Regions from separate parts of the Homo sapiens genome. Here all the other regions are linked to region 1. Evidence: promoter capture Hi-C in 16 types of primary human blood cells and fetal thymus (Javierre and others, 2016). All regions are on one chromosome and are shown on one strand. Each heading gives the region's core, a stretch centred on a gene start or on the middle of the fragment in contact. The rest is flanking DNA. Distances are from core to core; before and after follow the strand shown.

Evidence for each region. Contacts are between HindIII fragments. The CHiCAGO score rates a contact against its expected background, and 5 or more counts as called.
Region 2: a contact is called between a fragment that was not itself captured here and the fragment with the promoter of PCGF6 in region 1, in 1 of 17 cell types (endothelial precursors). The highest score is 5.5, in endothelial precursors.
Region 3: a fragment that was not itself captured here is called in contact with the fragment with the promoter of PCGF6 in region 1 in 5 of 17 cell types (endothelial precursors, M0 macrophages, naive B cells and 2 more); the score reaches 7.2 in endothelial precursors.
Region 4: a contact is called between a fragment that was not itself captured here and the fragment with the promoter of PCGF6 in region 1, in 1 of 17 cell types (endothelial precursors). The highest score is 6.1, in endothelial precursors.
Region 5: a fragment that was not itself captured here is called in contact with the fragment with the promoter of PCGF6 in region 1 in 1 of 17 cell types (endothelial precursors); the score reaches 5.2 in endothelial precursors.

What each region holds. Positions count from the first base shown.
Region 1 is chr10:103,349,003-103,352,654 of GRCh38, forward strand. PCGF6 (polycomb group ring finger 6) reads right to left here and starts at 2,138. Exons shown (of 10, transcript NM_001011663.2): 1 at 1,705-2,138. The coding sequence starts at 2,064. RefSeq lists an enhancer at 1,366-1,871 and a silencer at 2,037-2,266. The HindIII fragment of the contact is 2,980 bases long and covers 1-2,638 here.
Region 2 is chr10:103,064,072-103,067,570 of GRCh38, forward strand. All of the region lies in intron 4 of CNNM2 (cyclin and CBS domain divalent metal cation transport mediator 2), which reads left to right. Among named protein-coding and RNA genes, the nearest start is that of NT5C2, 130 kb to the right of the region's middle. The HindIII fragment of the contact is 4,469 bases long and covers 1-3,499 here.
Region 3 is chr10:102,873,143-102,876,798 of GRCh38, forward strand. AS3MT (arsenite methyltransferase) reads left to right here. Exons shown (of 11, transcript NM_020682.4): 5 at 1-91; 6 at 1,450-1,519. BORCS7-ASMT (BORCS7-ASMT readthrough (NMD candidate)) reads left to right here. Exons shown (of 15, transcript NR_037644.1): 9 at 1-91; 10 at 1,450-1,519. Among named protein-coding and RNA genes, the nearest start is that of AS3MT, 5.5 kb to the left of the region's middle. The HindIII fragment of the contact is 685 bases long and covers 1,297-1,981 here.
Region 4 is chr10:102,946,654-102,950,121 of GRCh38, forward strand. All of the region lies in intron 1 of CNNM2 (cyclin and CBS domain divalent metal cation transport mediator 2), which reads left to right. Among named protein-coding and RNA genes, the nearest start is that of CNNM2, 30 kb to the left of the region's middle. The HindIII fragment of the contact is 3,249 bases long and covers 1-3,241 here.
Region 5 is chr10:102,984,467-102,987,849 of GRCh38, forward strand. All of the region lies in intron 1 of CNNM2 (cyclin and CBS domain divalent metal cation transport mediator 2), which reads left to right. Among named protein-coding and RNA genes, the nearest start is that of CNNM2, 68 kb to the left of the region's middle. The HindIII fragment of the contact is 1,884 bases long and covers 964-2,847 here.

The sequences.
Region 1 (3,652 bases), core at 888-3,387:
CAAATAAACGGAAACAGTTTTAAAATACAAGTCCTTGCCTTTTACAAATTCTTTTTTTTTTTTTGAGACAGAGTCTCACTCTGTAGCCCAAGCTGAGTGCAGTGATGTCATCTCGGTTCACTGCAACCTCCGCCTCCTGGATTAAAGCGATTCTCCTGTCTCAGCCTCCCGAGTAGCTGGGATTACAGGCGCGCACAACCACGCCTGGCTAATTTTTGTATTTTTAGTAGAGATGGGGTTTCACCATGTTGGCCAGGCTGGTCTCGAACCCCTGGCCTCAGGTGATCCACCCGCCAAGGCCTCCCAAAGTGCTAGGATTACAAGCATGAGCCACCGCGCTCAGTCCACCTTCTTCAAAACCTTAAACCATAATCTCAAAATGTCATTGCAACATGGAAACATACACCTCCAACCCATTAAAAGACTACTGAAAGTTACAATAATAACACAATATAAATTATTGTTTCTTTCTTTCCGTTTTTTTTTTTTTTTTTTTGAGAGGGAGTCTGCCTCTGTCGCCCAGACTGGAGTGCAGCGGCAAGATCTCGGCTCACTGCAACCTCCGCCTCCCAGATTCAAGTGATTCTCCTACCTCAGCCTCCTGAGTAGCTGAGATTACAGGCGCGTGCCACCACGCCCCGCTACTTTTTGTATTTTCAGTAGAGAAGGGGTTTCACCGCTTTGGTCAGGCTGAACTCCTGACCTCGTGTTTCGCCTGCCTCGGCCTCCCAAAGTGCGGGGATTATAGGCGTGAGCCACACCGCGCCCAGCCAAATTATTGTTTCAAAAGGATCTTTACGCTGGGCGCAGTGGCTCACGCCTGTAATCCCAGCACTTTGGGAGGCCGAGGCGGGCGGATCACGAGGTCAGGAGATCGAGACCATCCTGGCTAACACGGTGAAACCCCGTCTCTACTAAAAATACAAAAAATAAGCCGGGCGTGGTGGCGGGCGCCTTGTAGTCCCAGCTACTCTAAAGGCTGAGGCTGGAGAATCGCTTGAACCTGGGAGGCGGAGGTTGCAGTGAGCCGAGATCGCGCCACTGCACTCCAGCCTGGGCGACAGAGCGAGACTCCGTCTCAAAAACAAAACAAAACAAAACAAAACAAAAGGATCTTTACTGCCTAGTAAGCAGTAGCTTCAATAATTATACAGGACAGGCAACGTGGCTCACGCATGTAATCTTTCGGAAGGCCAGAGAGGGAGAATCTCTTGAACCCAGGAGTTCGAGAACAGCCTGGGAACATAGGGAGCCCTCCTCGCTACAAAAAAAAAAAAAAATGTTTAATTAGCCCGGCGTGGTGGCGCGTGCCTGTAGTCCCAGCTACTCCGGAGGCTGAGGCGGGAGGATCGCCTGAGGCCAGGAGTTGGAGGCTGCAGTGAGCCATGGTCGCGCCACTGCACTCCAGCCTGGGAGACCCTGTCTCAAAATAATTATAATTATTAACAGAACGAATGAGTTGGACTCGCAGAGCCTAAGTGACCTGCAAGAACTTCACAAAATAAGCGGGTAAAGACCCAGGCCGGGCCGGAGGCCTGTCGGCGCCACACGCCTAGGCAGCCGGGGCAGAGGTCGGGGGAGGTCCGCTCCAGTGCTCCGCGCGGCGGCGGCGCACTAGGATCGGGCCGGCGCCCGGCAGACGAGGGCCAGCTACGTCCCTGACGCCGCTTGGGCCCAGCGGGGTCGCGCGGGGGCTCTAAATACCTCCTCCTCGTCCTCCGAGTCCTGCCGGCCTCCCTCCAGCCTCAACGAGAAGTGACTCATGTCCTCCTCCTCCTCCTCTTCTTCCTCCTCCAGCTCCTCTTCTTCTTCCAACTCCTCGTCCTCGTCCTCGAAGCGGCCTCTGAAGCGGCCCAGGCTGCGCTCCGGCTCCAGCTCAGGGGGCCGGGAGCCGGAGCAGCCGGGAGCCCCCGTCTCAGACAGAGGCGCCGGTCCCTCCTCACCCGCTGCGGGTGCAGGGGTGAGGGCGGGCGGGGAGACAGGAGGCGGAGGCGGCAAGGCTGCAGCTCCCTCGGTTTTGGCAGCGCCTACGCTGCCCGCCGTCACCACCGCGACCCCCTCCATGGTCGGGAGAGACACCAGGCGAGGCGAGGCGGCGGGAGAGCGCGGGAGTTCGGCCGGCCTCGGACGCCACCACTGCGCAGGCGCGGCAGCCTGAGGGGCTCGCCGGGAAATGTGGTTTAGCGGCCCTCACCTCCGCGGGGCGCAAACCCTGCAGCTCCGGGGCAGGCTGCGGGGCGCGCGGGCCGCACTTTAAAGGAATCTCACCAGATTTTCTCCTTGGAAGGGGACGCTCTCTTCGCCGCCTTTTAAAAACAGCAAAATTGCTACCGTTCCAAGCAACAATATTCTGTTTGCATCACCTAATTCACAGAGCACTGAACTAGGTAGCATGTGACGTTGCATCACAAATAATAATCATTTCCACTTGAGTACCAATTATGCATTTCCTCTGTGGCAAATCACCTCCATCCAAGATTATTTCCCTTAGGAAGTATAAAGTTCCTGTTCTGAAGTATGTACGTTTATTTATTTTAAGGAATTATATAGTGTATTGATACAAGGTGAAAATCTAATCACTACTCAAAGATCATCCATGTCACCCCATCCCATAAAGCCCATTATATTGAATTCGAAAAGCTTTTTTTTTTTTTTTTTGAGACAGTTTCGCTCTTGTCGCTCAGGCAGGAGTGCAGTGGCGCTCACTTGCAACCTCCGCCTCCCGGGTCCAAGCGATTCTGCCTCAGGCTCCCAAGCAGCTGGGACTACTGGCGCCTGCCACCACGCCCAGCTAACTTTTGTATTTTCAGTAGAGACAGGGTTTCACCATGTTGACCAGGCTAGTCTCAAACTTCTGATCTCAGGTGATCCACCCGCCTCAGCCTCCCAAAGTGTTGGGTTACAGGCCTGAGCCAGGGCGCCGGGCCCAACAAACATTTATTGAGGGCCTACTGTAGCAGAAACTCAGACCCACCCAGGTACAACCCACCCCATTGCCCAATTTTATTAAGAGAGGTTTGGAGTTGGCTTAACATTATTCTTGCTAGTCCGGGCGCGGTGGCTCACACCTGTAATCCCAGCACTTTGGGAGGCCGAGGCGCGCAGATCATGAGGTCAGGAGTTCAAGACCAGCCTAGCCAACATGGTGAAACCCCGTCTCTACTAAAAATACAAAAATTAGCTGGGCATGGTGGCGCGTGCCTGTAATCCCAGCTACTTGGGAGGCTAAGGCAGAAGAATCACTTGAGCCCAGGAGGCGGAGCTTGCAGTGAGCTAAGATCGTGCCACTGCACTCCAGCCTGGGCTACAGAGTGAGACTCCATCTCAAAACAAAACAAAACAAAACAAAACAAAACAAAAAACAAAAAAACCATTATCCTTGCTAAGATAATGCCAGCTAATGTCACGATGCCTGCAAGAAAGATTCGGGAAGTCAAATGCTCCTAATCAAATAATGCCTGGCAAAGTCACATTTAAGAGCTGAATGTGACCAGGCACAGTGGCTCCCGCCTGTAATCCCAGCACTTTGGGAGGCTGAGGCAAGCGGATTGCCTGAGGTTGGGAGTTAGAGACCAGCCTGACCAACATGGAGAAACCCCATCTCTACTAAAAATACAAAATTAGCCGGGCATGGTGGCGCATGCCTGTAATC
Region 2 (3,499 bases), core at 944-3,443, 280 kb before region 1:
TTTGACAACTCTTGGAATTGTAGAGTCATAGAATGCTATTATAGAACTGAAAGAACTGCAGGTACCCTTTAATCTGTTGCAACTTTATATGAAGTAAAATTACTCTAATGTGATAACTCTTCCTAAGTGCTGAGATATTTTAACAAAGTTTTTGCCAGTTTGAGGCAGAATGAGAAAATAAAGACAGTTGCGATGAGCTTTTCATAAAGCTATGTGTATTCAGTTTGAAGACCTATTACTCTGAAATGACATATTTTCTAAATTTGAGGGGTTAAATGTCTGGTCTTTTATGAAATGATGGTAACAGTAGATAGCTGTTTTTTTTGTTTTGTTTTGTTTTGAGACAGTGCCTCACTATTTCGCCCAGGCTAGTCTTGAGCTCCTGACCTCAAGCAATCCTCCTGCCTCAGCCTCCCCAGTAACTGGGATTACAGGTGTGAGCTACTGTGCCTGGCAATAGTTGTGTTTTTTAAAATAAATACCTTTATTTTGCCCTGGCACGGTGGCTCATGCCTGTAATCCCAACACTTTGGGAGACTGAGGAGGGAGGATCAGCCAGGAGTTCAAGACCAGCCTGGGAAACATAGTGAGACCCCGTCTCTATAAAAAAATAGAAAAATTAGCTGGGCATGGTGGTGCACACCTGTAGTGCCAGCTACTCAGGAGGCTGAGTTACAAGTGTTGCTTGAGCTCAGGAGTTCAAGGCTGCAGGATTCTCACCACCGGTGCGGTGAGCCATGATTGCACCACTGCACTCCAGCCTGGGTGACAGAGTAAGACCCTGTCTGAAAAAATAAATTTTAAAACCATCTTTATGAAAAAAAAATTTGGCAACCCCGTATCTTTCCCTGTATCTGTCTCTGTAGAGGTGCGTCTTACTGGCCGTTAGGATGGAAATGTCTAGGAATCACTGAGCTTAGCATATCCACCCCGCAGCAGTGAATCTCAACTAGATGGAGTCCAGAGGGAAGATGGCAGATCCTCCCCTGCCTGGGATCCTGTCTGGAAGGACAGAGGAAGCATCAGCTGGAATGGCAGTGGTCTGGAGTTTTGAGTCTTGCAGCCGCCCTTGCTTAATCAGTTGACTCAGCTACACTGCCTTTGAGGGAGTCCCTTGAGAGGCCAGGGCACACAGTTTCCAGGGCTGGGGCCATTGTTCACAGACAGAGCCTTAAAGCAATGATTCCCAAAGTTTGTGGCTTGCTAGAATCACCCGGAAATCTTTTTAAATAAAATCCTGATGCCCAGATTCACCTATATTGTTAAATGAGAATGCCCGAGGGCCGGAGCCAGAGTCGGTAATCTGGGAATCTCTGCTTTGAGTGTGCAAGGCAGAGCTTCAGGCCTCAGAGTGGAACCACCGCACGCTTCCAAGAGACAGATGGTGTGAACCTATGGATTAAATAGAAAAAAAGATGTACAGTTTTCTGTTTTACAGTCTTGTTTTGGTTGTGCCTGCCCTACTAGTCCTGACAGTTTTATCTCCAAAGAATAGTGACCTGGCATCTGTCTGCAGGGACACAACACAAAAGGCCCTGTAACTTGTACAACAAATGCTCCAGATAACTGGAGACACCCAGGAACGGAAGTCACCATGAGGCTCCACTGCATTTGACTCTTCCTCCTGATTTCCTGCATGGAGGGTCAGGCTCAGAGCTGGTCACGCAGCCACTCTTGAGGTTACAAACTACAAAGCAGACATTTGCAGCCAGCACATACATGTCAGTTCAGGAAGAGATGGACACGGAATTGGGGAGACATGTACCGTGGCTACTCCTGTGTGTGTTGCTATCTCTGAACCTTGTTCCTCCCCTCCTCTTTGAAGGGACCCTACTTCAGGGACTTCCCCAGCACCCAGAGTCCTGAATTTTCAACAGCCTTCCCATGGCCCCACAGATGGGGATGTCCTGCTGCCTGTCCCTCTCCTGCCGGGGCCACTGTCCTCCCACTGATTCCTCTGTAGGGTAGGAAAGCCTCCTGCAGCCCCCAGCGGCCTGTGGTCAGTGATTGCTCCCGGCGGCCTTGAGCACCTTGAGGCCCTGACCGTCCTTGCCCCTGGAATTCTCCTGACCCCTGCTCTTCTGCCATGGTGCCGTGGTCTGGGCCTCCCTTTTCAGGCTCTGCCATGGTCCTGTTATGGTTTCAGTTTTCCCTGCTGCTCTCAGTCACGGGCTGAGCTTCGGTCCTTTTCCTGTCTCAGGTCCCCATCTCCAGCCCTGACCTCTCTCCAGACCTTCTTTCTCCCACTCGTGGTGTCCCTGTTCCTCAGCCCCTCCCAATGGGCCTCTGGTTCCTATACTCCTGTCTCCCTGATGGCTTCTTCGAATCATGCTGGTCCCTTATCAATAGCTTCTCTACCGCACTCCCTCCCCAGGCCTGTGGCTGCCACCCTCGTGGAAGCAGACTCTGTTCCTCCACCCAGGACCCAACCCTGCCAGCCCATTGCCTGGGGATCTGCTCACCCAGCTGCCTTCCAGATGTGCCCTCACTCCTCCCTGCAAACACAGAGCCTGGCCGGCCGCTGCCGCCACCCTGGGCCTCCCTCATGCTGTCCCTTTCTCTTGGTCATCCACAGCTTTTCCTTCCTGTATGCGATTTGTCTTTATATAAGAACAAGAAGTAAGATTTTTCTGGGAGCTTCTGTTCCCAATGTCTTTTTCCTCATGCTGAGCTCTTGTGTGCCATGTGGGCTGTTGCTTCTCATGTGCTCGCCTGTCCCTGCTGCATGGTCAGCCCGTGGGGGATGACGGCTGTCATCTCCGACTCCACAGTGTCATCTCTAGGGCCCTGCCTGTGTGGGGAAGGTTTGTAGCACCTGCCCATTTGCAGGTGGATTTTATATCATGGGTGGAGTTGTAAGTTTATACGGCAAGATAATTGGCTAGGGACTGGTGAACTGTCATTTCTGTTGAGCAGGAAAACCTGAGAGGCAGTAGTTCTTCTCCTGAAGCTATGGCCCAAGAAAGACCTTTTGTAATTGGAAACTTAATATAAAATGATAGTTTGCATCAGGTGGCATAGCATCTTTTTTTTTTTTTTTTCTTTGAGACAGGGTCTCATTCTGTGGCCTGGGCTGGAGTGCAGTGGCGTGATCATGGCTCACTGCCTCACAGGTTCAAGTAATCCTCCCAAGTAGCTGAGACTACAGGTGCACGCCACCATGCCTGGCTAATTTTTGTAGAGATGGGGTCTTGCTGTGTTGCCCAGGCTGATCTTGAACTCCTGGGCTCAAGCAATTTGCCTGCCTCGGTCTCCCAAAGTGCTGAGGTTACAGGTATGAGCCACTGCTCCCAGCCTCCTAGCATCCTGATGAAGAGCTTGTTCTTTACTAAATCTTGCTGATCCCCCCTCCCCTGATTTGTAGGAGGGCAATGATTTGTCTGCTGCATCGAGTTGTGCACATTAAATGAATTCATAAAACACTGATGTGTTAGCACAATTCCTTTTCAATACATGGCATCTTAATTTTTGTTCACCCATTGTAAAGGATGCCTCACAC
Region 3 (3,656 bases), core at 389-2,888, 480 kb before region 1:
GCTTCCAGGCATCTAATGTGACTTTTATTCATGGCTACATTGAGAAGTTGGGAGAGGCTGGAATCAAGAATGAGAGCCATGATATTGTTGTGTAGGTCTATATTCTTACTGTTATGACTATAGCCCATTTTCTTTATTATTATTATTATTATTATTGAGATGGACTCTCGCTCTGTCACCCAGGCCAGAGTGCAGTGGCCCAATGTCAGCTCACGATAACCTCTGCCTCCCGGGTTCAACTGATTCTCTTGCCTCAGCCTCTCAAGTAGCTGGGATTATAGGCACACGCTACCACATCCAGCTAATTTTTTAAATCTTCTTTTAGTAGAGACAGGGTTTCACCATGTTGGCCAGGCTGGTCTCAAACTCCTGATCTCAGGTGATCCACCCGCTTCCACCTCCCAAAGTGCTGGGATTACAGGTGTGAGGCACTGTGCTCAGCCCTCATTTCCTTTTGAACACAGAGATGTCACTATTACTGTTTGCTGAATTGACTCTCATTTAGGGTGTTAAACTAAACTTAGCATGGCTTACTAATGGGAGAGAGCTGGTTTGAGCTGCTGGAGCTCACCAGCAGCAGAACACACCAGACCAAGAGGGAACTTACTTGAAACTTAACCACAAACCAATGAACCCAAAAGACCAGCAGGACCACTAAGTTTGCTCCTACAATACATGCTGACCTGTATCTTTCATAATATTTTCATGGTAAATTATAGGATTCTATTTCCTTTTTTCCCTCAAGTTGTTATTGTCAAATCATGCCCAAGTGACAGCTGCCTTTGAGGAACATAGCCTGTTTACGTGAAGCATAAGAAATGCCTTGTGCCGGCCAGGTGCGGTGGCTCACGCCTATAATCCCAGCATTTTGGGAGGCCGAGGCAGGTGGATCACGAGGTCAGGAATTCCAGACCAGCTTGAACAACATGGCGAAACCCCGTCTCTACTAAAAATACAAAAATTAGCTGGGTGTGGTGGCACATGCCTGTAATCCCAGCTATTTAGGAGGCTGAGGCAGGAGAATCACTTGAACCCGGGAGGCGGAGGTTGCAATGAGCCGAGATTGCGCCATTGTACTCCAGCCTGGGCAACAGGAGTGAAACATCCTCTCGGGAAAAAAAAAAAAAGAAAGAAATGCCTTGTGCAGTAGGCATCTGGTCTGAGGTTTCATCTTGTTACATGGTGAACATCAGGACAGAAACAAGTAAGAATCATGCCTGATGTTATTTTCTGCACATTCAAACTTGCTAACAATTTATTGAGATTTTAAGCACTCTGTCTCTGATCTTGGGGAAAAGCTTAGTTGAAGGCATTAGAAAGAGAGGAGGGAGGCGGTAAGAATGGGGTAGCTTTGACAGAACGGTGGGAACCACCTTTAGGGTCTGAAAGGATTTGCAGATCTCTGAGTGTTGTGAAGATTTGCTCGACATTTCATCTGTTCTCTTTTAGATCAAACTGTGTTATTAACCTTGTGCCTGATAAACAACAAGTGCTTCAGGAGGCATATCGGGTGCTGAAGGTGAGGAGGAGAGTGAGATAAATTATCTTTGAACATCAGTAAGAGCTGATGGGTTAAGTCTTGTTTGTTCCCCCTTGAACTAAGAGCTCAAACTCTCTTAATTTATCCATTAAATGAATAAGGGGTGGCAAAAGGGGGAAGGGGCAGGAATACCCCGGATATGGATTACTTTCCCTCTTAGGTTGCAAAAGGTAGTAAATCCGAGGTGACAGTTGTCACTGAATGTGTTAAGGTATTTGCTTTCTTGACTGTCTCTCCTATTTGCTGCTGTACATGATCCTAGAAGAGCATCTGTGGAGCTATAGGAATCTTTGCACTGACTACTAATGATTGCTTTGAATATACTCTCTTCTAGCATGTACAGTGTTTCTCAGGGCTTCTGATTTCTTATCTGTCATGATTTCAGATCTTTGGGAAGTTACAGAAGATGGAACTTTTACATTAACTACTTGCTAAAAGGAAAGCTTGCAGGAGCTCCACAGCCTTCATTGTATCATGAGATGTGTATCTTCATGATAGTAGATGAAATATTCAGCCAGGTGCGGTAGCTCACACCTGTAATCCCAGTGCTGTGGGAGGCCGAGGCGGGCAGATCACCTGAGGTCAGGAGTTTGAGACCAGCTTGGCCAACATGGAGAAACTCTGTCTCTACTAAAAATACAAAAATTAGCTGGGTGTGGTGGTGCGTGCCTGTAATCCCAGCTCCTCGGGAGGCTGAGGTAGGAGAATAGCTTGAACCCAGAAGTCAGAGGTTGCAGTGAGCCAGGATCGTGCCACTGCACTCCAGCCTGGGAGACAGAGCGAGACTCCATCTCAAAAAAAAAAAAAAAAAAAAAAGATTCTAGCTGGGTGGGTGGTACATGCCTGTACTCCCAGCTACTTGGATGCTGAGGCAAGAGGATTGCTTGAGCTCTGGAGTTTGTGTGCAGCTTGGGCAATATAGTGTGATCACTGCCTCTAAAAAAATGTTTTTTTTTTTGAGATGGAGTCTCACTCTGCTGTCCAGGCTGTAGTGCAGTGGCAGGATTTCATCTCACTGCAACCTCCGCCTCCTGGGTTCAAACAATTCTTTTGCCTCAGCCTCCCTAGTAGCTGGGACTACAGGCGTGTGCCACCATGCCCAGCTAATTTTTGTACTTTTAGTAGAGACAAGATTTCACCATATTGGTCAGGCTGATCTTGAACTCCTGATCTCATGATCTGCCTCAGCCTCCCAAAGTGCTGGGATTACAGGCATGAGCCGCTGTGCCTGGCCAAAATTTTTTTTTAAATTGACAACAGATTTTTGAGATTTTTGGTTTACAAAGCTGTCATAGAACTCAAATACAAATATCTATATAGAAATGATTTAATGATTTAGTGATGTCTTTGTTAGTATGTCATTTTACACGCCAGTTCACTATCTCCACCAAAAATGTACTTATAAAAGGTAGAAACACTATTATAGAATCTAGATCTCCAGGTTTCCAGGTTTTTGAAATTAGCTAAATAAAATGTTAAGTTCCTGATCACTCATTTGCCTTACATTTTAAGGATAATATTTTAAAGATAAAATGTGTTGTTATAAAAGTAAATAACAACATTACAAAAAGTTATATTTTTTAATAGAAATGGGGTCTTGCTGTCACCCAGGCTGGAATGCAGTGTCACTATCTGTACCCCTCTAACTCCTGAGTTAGAGGGGTCCAGATAGTGACACTCACTGTACCCTCTAACTCCTGGGCTCAAACAATCCTCTTGAGTAGCTAGGACTCCAGGCACATGCCACCATGCCCAGCTAGTTTTTAAATTTCTATATGGGAGAGAGGGTCTTGCTGTGTTGCCAAGGCTAGTCTCAAACTGCTCTCCTCCAGCAAGCCTCCCACTTCGGCCTCCTGAGTCATTGGGATTAGAGGCCTGAGCCATCATACCTGGCAAAGTTATACTATTCTTAAGAGATAAAAGATTATGAATACTGATGATATCCTCTGTTCTACAATGACCTGGGGCTGCTTTTGGTTCAGATTGGCTAAAAATTTAAATGTAAGTAACCTGAAAATCTTTATTTAGGAGACAGACACTCTTAGAATGTGATTTTATTACCTGTTGGATAAGCCACTGGGAGGAAAAAAAACCTTGGCACTTGACTATTGATTGT
Region 4 (3,468 bases), core at 367-2,866, 400 kb before region 1:
GGGAAGTACATTAATAATTGAACACCCGTGAGGTGTTACTGCTTCTGTTCTGCACTTTTAGTGTTTTCTGTAGCCTGAAAGAGTTACTTCACTATTTTGATTTGCAACCGGGATAGAACTTGAAGCACCGTTAAGAAAGGATTGGAGACTTTGTCATGGTACTTATTTTCCAGATGTTTACTTTTTAAATAAGGAAAAACTACAACATGTTAATAACCAACTTGGAAAAAACAATATTGTGATCTGAGAAAGAACAAAACACATGCCATACTTAATATGTTAGTATCCATTTTTTCCCCTTCAAATACAATTCTGCATGTATCTGAGTAGCTCTTCACCAAATGCCAGAACTTTTTACTCAGAGTAAATGTTGATGAGATAGGACATGTGAACCATTGAAGAACTGATTTTTTTTCTCATAAATACTAACTTACTCTGAACTAGTTTATAGTTACTAACCCCACTGCCATAAATTCTCCAGTCATATGTTTTGTAATCCCTTCCCTGGCATACATTTTAATCATTTTCCTACTGCTTCATAGGTACTATAATCCTTTTATAGTTCCCTGGGTTTTAAAATAACCCTATAAAGGGTTCAGTTTTATATTTAATAGTCATGTTTCACACTGTTCTAAAGCTGTGAATAAGTTCAGGCAAGCAGAAGTTTCTAATTTGAAACGACTTTGTTTCTGTTTTAGAAAGATGTATGCGTCTTCTAGTGTTTTTCATTGTGATGATGTTATATATTGGCTAGAATTTTAAAAATATTTGGAAATACTTATAAAGTGAAGAAAAATGAAGAAAAAAAACCACTGACTGCTGAGCACAGTGGCTCGCGCCTGTAATTCCAACACTTTGGGAGGCCGAGGTGGGCAGATCACATGAGGTCAGGAGTTTGAGATTAGCCTGGCCAATGGTGAAACCCTGTCTCTACTAAAAATACAAAAATTAGCTGGGCGTAGTGGTGCACGCCTGTAATCCCAGCTACTTGGGAGGCTGAGGCAGGAGAATCACTTGAGTCTGGGAGATGGAGGTTGCAGTGAGCTGAGTTTGCGCCACTGCACTCCATCCAGCCTGGTTGACAGACTGAGACTCTGTCTCAAAAACAAACAAACAGGCCAGGCGCGGTGGCTCATGCCTGTAATCCTAGCACTTTGGGAGGCCAAGGCGGGCAAATCACGAGGTCAGGAGATCGAGACCATCTGGCTAACACGGTGAAACCCTGTCTTTACTAAAAATACAAAAAAAAATTAGCCGGGCGTGGTGGCAGGCACCTGTAGTCCCAGCTACTCAGGAGGCTGGGGCAGGAGAATGGCGTGAACCCGGGAGGTGGAGCTTGCAGTGAGCCGAGATTGCACCACTACACTCCAGCCTGGGGATAGAGCGAGACTCCCTCTCAAAAAACAAAAAAACAAACACAAACAAAAACCCCACACAGGTAAAAACATTCATCTTGTAATTTTCTATTATCAGGTTTCAAAAGATCACTTCTTTCTTGAAACATACATTGTATGTCTTTTGGTGAACAAGATTGTTGTTGTCTTCCTGGTGCTGACAGTTTGGTGGGGGAGATAGACATGAAGCAAATCATCACACGAATAAACTCATCTGCATGTGCTGTGGGGGAGAAGTACTTAGTGCCCTGAGAATATTGGCAGGTGGGACGGGAGGGAAGAAAGTAGCTTTTGGGTGACTTGAGATCTGACAGATAAGTAGGCGTCAACTAGAGGAAATTTGGGTGTGGAAAAGAGACTATTGCAGGGAGACATGATAAGGTGGGAGGTAACATTGTACACTCAAGGAGCTGAAAGATGATTAGTGTGGCTGGAACACAAATAATTTGTGTGTGTGCATGTTGAGGGGTAGGTTGGGTGGTACAAGATGCTATTGGCGAAGTCAGCAGAAGCAAGCAGGGACTCCAGCAGGCAGACCTTGCAGGCCACACTAAGGGTTCCAGGATTTCTTCTAAGAGCAACAATATGTCCTTGAAGTATTGGGGGTACATGAGCATGACATTATTAGAGTTGCATTTTCAAAAGGTCTTCTGTGTGGAAAATCTTTTGATGAGGAGAGAGAAAAGATGTGGAGAGACAGAGACTGGCATTTGGAGGCCTTTGCAGAAGTCTGGTAAGAAATGATGACAGCTGGGTGGTTGGGATGGGGAGAGGATGATTGATTTGAAGATGCCAAAAAGGACAAGGCTTTACCAACCCCCCTTTCAATGATAGAGAGAGAGAGGCAAAATATAGATATTATCTTCATAACCGGGGCCCGAAAAGTCAAAGATCATGCAGTTAGTAAGCAGAAGTAGACCTGGCACTGGAAGCTGTCTGACCTCACATACGCTGCTCTCTTTTATGGCACTCTGCCTTTTTAGGAGAGAACCTTGAGTTTGGAGAACTTAGGTATTCTCTGACTGACACAGCACCAACTACAGTGTCCAGCTCTTGTGCATTAAAGCTAAATTTAGGCAATGGACTCATATCTGACAATGAGCATTGCTTTGTCAGGTTCACTAGATACCATTTATTTATTTATTTGAGGTGGAGTCTTGCTGTGTTGCCCAGGCTGGAGTGCAGTGGTGTGATCTCGGCTCACCGCAACCTCCGCCTCCCCGATTCAAGCAATTCTCCTGCCTCAGCCTCCTGAGGAGCTGGGATTACAGGCACATGCCACCACGCCTGGCTAATTTTGTATTTTTAGTAGAGAAGGGGTTTCTCCATGTTGGTCAGGCTGATCTTGAACTCCCGACCTCAGGTAATCCGCCTGCCTCAGCCTCCCAAAGTGCTGGGATTACAGGCATGAGCCACCACACCTGGCGGTAGTAGTGATTTAAATGGTATCTAGTGGCCGGGCACAGTGGCTCATGCCTGTAATTCTAGCACTTTGGGAGGCCGAGACAGGCAGATCACTTGAGGTCAGAAGTTCGAGACCAGCCTGGCCAATATGGAGAAACCCCATCTCTACTGAGAAAATACTAAAAATACGCGCGTGGTGGCGCGTGCCTGTAATCCCAGCTACTAGGGAAGCTGAGGCAGGAATCTGGAAGGTGCTTGAATCTGGAGGGCGGAGGTTGCAGTGAGCCGAGATTGCGCCACTGTACTCCAGCTTGGGCAACAAGAGTGAAACTCCATCTCAAATAATAATAATAACAATAATAATAATAACAACAACAACAAATAAATCACTACTACCTTCTGATGAGGAGACACACTCCATCCTAACTATTGGGTTGTGAATAAGCTTATCAGTAAAGTCACAGTTTACCAATCTGTTTGATAATACTGGTTTATTGAGTCCATGATATGTTCCTAGCACTCTATTAGTTATAAAAGATACCTAAAGCACGACCACTATAGAACTTACTATCTAATAGGGGAGAAAAGACTCAAATACATGATTCCAGCATGACAGCTCCTGTCGTGGAGATACATGCAGGATGCTATGGGCACCCAGAGGAAGGACTTT
Region 5 (3,383 bases), core at 656-3,155, 360 kb before region 1:
GGGGAATTTTAATTTTTAAGTGATGGCTCCAGGTCTTCATGTGTATAAGATTCTTGCAGGAAAATTTTTTGATGTTACTAGTAATTTTAAAGGAATATGTGTAAAAGGCTTAGGGTAGTGCTCGCTCTACAACTAGATATTTGACAATCTAAGCCTAGATTATAACTGAAATATAATTGTGTAATCTTGTCCTTACTTCTATCTTATTTTTTTGAGACGGTCTCACTCTGTCACCCAGGCTGGAGTGCAGTGGTGTGATCTCGGCTCACTGCAACCTCTGCCTCCCGGGTTCAAGTGATTCTCCCAAGTAGCTGGGACTACAGGCGCCTGTCACTACGCCTGGCTAATTTTTGTATTTTTAGTAGAGGTGGTGTTTCACCATGTTGGCCAGGCTGGTCTCTAACTCCTGACCTCAAATGATCCACCCACCTCAGCCTCCCAAAGGGCTGGGATTATAGGCTTGACCACTGTGCCCGGGCTTTACTCTTATTTTAAATGTCAGTTTGTTAAGGACAGAAAAAAAGACTGAATTTTGCTAATATTTTCTACACTTGATCTTAGCCAAAAGGCCGAGAAGCGATGAATTTTGCTAATATTTTCTAACATGAAAAGGAAATAACGAAGGGAAAGTCTTTTTTTTCTTTTTAACTTTCTGCAGCAGTTGGGCAAAATTCCTGCTTTGTGTAGGAAACCCTGGCAGACCTTGAGAATTCTAAATTGCTGCAGATTGTTTTATCTTTTTTTTCTAAAACAATTTGAATAGCGGATCCTTTCCATCTGAAACAAGTTTTTCCCCTTCTCACCCTCTTGTTTCATGTAATTAGCAGTCCTCCTCTGTATATTCCTATTTTGTCTGATATAGCCAAAATTCTTTAAAAAGAATTTTAAAATTTTAAAATTCTGCTGTGAGTCCGGCAAAGGGGCTGAGAGAATTTCTGTGTCAACATCATTGAGAACTCTGAAAGCTTCTTTACATACCAAGCTCCTCCTCATCAAAGCTAGATACAGGAAGTGTTTATGGTCCCTTTCTTCCAAGGGAATGGCTCTAAACTAACCAGCAGACCCTGTCTCACTTATGTTCTCCTTCAGGTTCTTCCTTGACATCCTACTGGCTACTCTTAGTCATGTTCTTTCTAGCCATCAAGTCTCCAAACTGCGTGGCCAGACAACTTGAGTTACCTGGGAAGTTCCTAGGGGCTAGATAAGTACTTTATGCCTTATTCTACAGCAGAATATTTGTTTTGTTTACATGACCAGCTCAGATTGATAGAATAGCTGTCTTTTAGCAACAGTGTAATCATTTAATGACAGCTGTTCAAGGGACTAGTAAAAGGATTGGGAAAGGGGGGCCTTCTAAACAAAGTGAATGGGCCCTGCCAACTGAGGAGTGATGTCTCCTAAATGGTTGGCATGTTCAGACTTCAGAGTATTATCCATCAGCTTGGAGACCCACAAGTTTTTTAAATATCTAGTGTTATCTGTTTACCTGTTAGCTTGGTGCCAAAGTGATTGCACCTTACCTCCAGACCATGTCTGTGCTTGCCCTGATGTACCTGTCATGTTCAGTACCTGTTTTGGTTTATAGGGCTTGGACTAGCTCCGATGTTCACTTGCCCTGTTTTACTTAGAGAAAGTCATCATGTGACTAAATTTTAAGATTACAAAGATAATGCATGTGATTTAGACTTGAGTGTGTAAAAGGCTTAGGGTAGTGCTCACTCTACAACTAGATATTTGACAATCTAAGCCTAGATTATAACTGAAATATAATTGTGTGATCTTGTCCTTACTTCTATCTTATTTTTTTGAGGCGGTCTCACTCTGTCACCCAGGCTGGAGTGCAGTGGTGTGATCTCGGCTCACTGCAACCTCTGCCTCCCGGGTTCAAGTGATTCTCCCGAGTATGGGTGGTGATGGACCATTTGTAAAGCCTCAGAAGCCAAACTGGAATTAATGTGAAAGTTATAGGGAAGTTAGTTTCAGCTTAATCAAAGTAGAATTTCCAAAAAGTAGAGCCATTTGAAAATGTCCTGTGGCTGGGCGCGGTGGCTCACGCCTGTAATACCAGTACTTTGGGAGGCCGAGGTGGGCGGATCACGAGGTCAAGAGATTGAGACCATCCTGGCTAACACGATGAAACCATGTCTCTACTTAAAAAAAAAAGTCAGCTGGGCATGGTGGCAGGTACCTGTAGTCCCAGCTACTTGGGAGGCTGAGGCAGGAGAATGCTGTGAACCTGGGAGGCGGAGCTTGCAGTGACCCGAGATTGCGCCACTGCACTCCAGCCGGGGTGACAGTGCAAGACTCAGTCTCAAAAAAAAAAAAAAAAAGTTTTTATCCTCCAGATCGTAGAATTATATTACTAGAGGTGGTGATTCAGCAGAAGCTGGATAAGCAATAATAGGGATTTTGTGTAAGTGTTGACATATGGGTAGGGTGGGCTAGGTGATTTGCTAATAGTGAGATATTTTGATTCAAGTATAAATTTCAGTAGTTGCAGATGAACACAGAAGGAACAAGCACAGATTTCTGCTGATGGTTAGTAAGACAACATTGCCAAGGGAGGGTGTCCCCAGAAGAGCAGAAAACCTAATATGAAAGCTCAAATTTAAAAGATGGAAGCAGGAAGTAAACTGCTGAAGGAGAATGTTCAGAGGAAGAAAACCAGAGGGTTTAGGGTACAAAGGCTGAGGGTGGAGAGTTTGAAGGAAGAAGAAGAAATTAGAGAACCATAAAGAAAATGATATATTCTAAAGCGGTAGTCCTCAAGGTAAATTGCATGTAGCTGTGCCTTGGGATGCAGTAGGACTTACATATATATATATGAATGAATATGCATATACATTAAGCTTATTATTATTATTATTATTTTGAGACGGAGTCTCGCTCTGTCACCCAGACTGGAGTGCAGTGGCGTGATCTCGGCTCACTGCAAGCTCCGCCTCCCAGGTTCACGCCATTCTCCTGCCCCAGCCTCCTGAGTAGCTGGGACCACAGGTGCCCACCACCACGCCTGGCTAATTTTTTTGTATTTTTAGTAGAGGTGGGGTTTCACCATGTTGGCGAGGATGGTCTCGAACTGCTGACCTCGTGATCTGCCCGCCTCGGCCTCCCAAAGTGCTGGGATTACAGGCTTGAGCCACTGCGCCCGGCCAAGCTTATTTTTATATGGATTTCATGATGTATATATTTTGTAATATATATAATTTATAAGTAAATATAAATTAGGGAGGTGTACTCAACATTTTCATAGAATACATAGTCAAAAATGGTTTGCAACCTCTGCTCTAACAAAAATAAAACACCCTACATCTTTGGTTCAAGATTGTCACCCCCAACAGTTGTGTGAAATGTGGGGCAGGAATTATCACTATTTTCCTTTG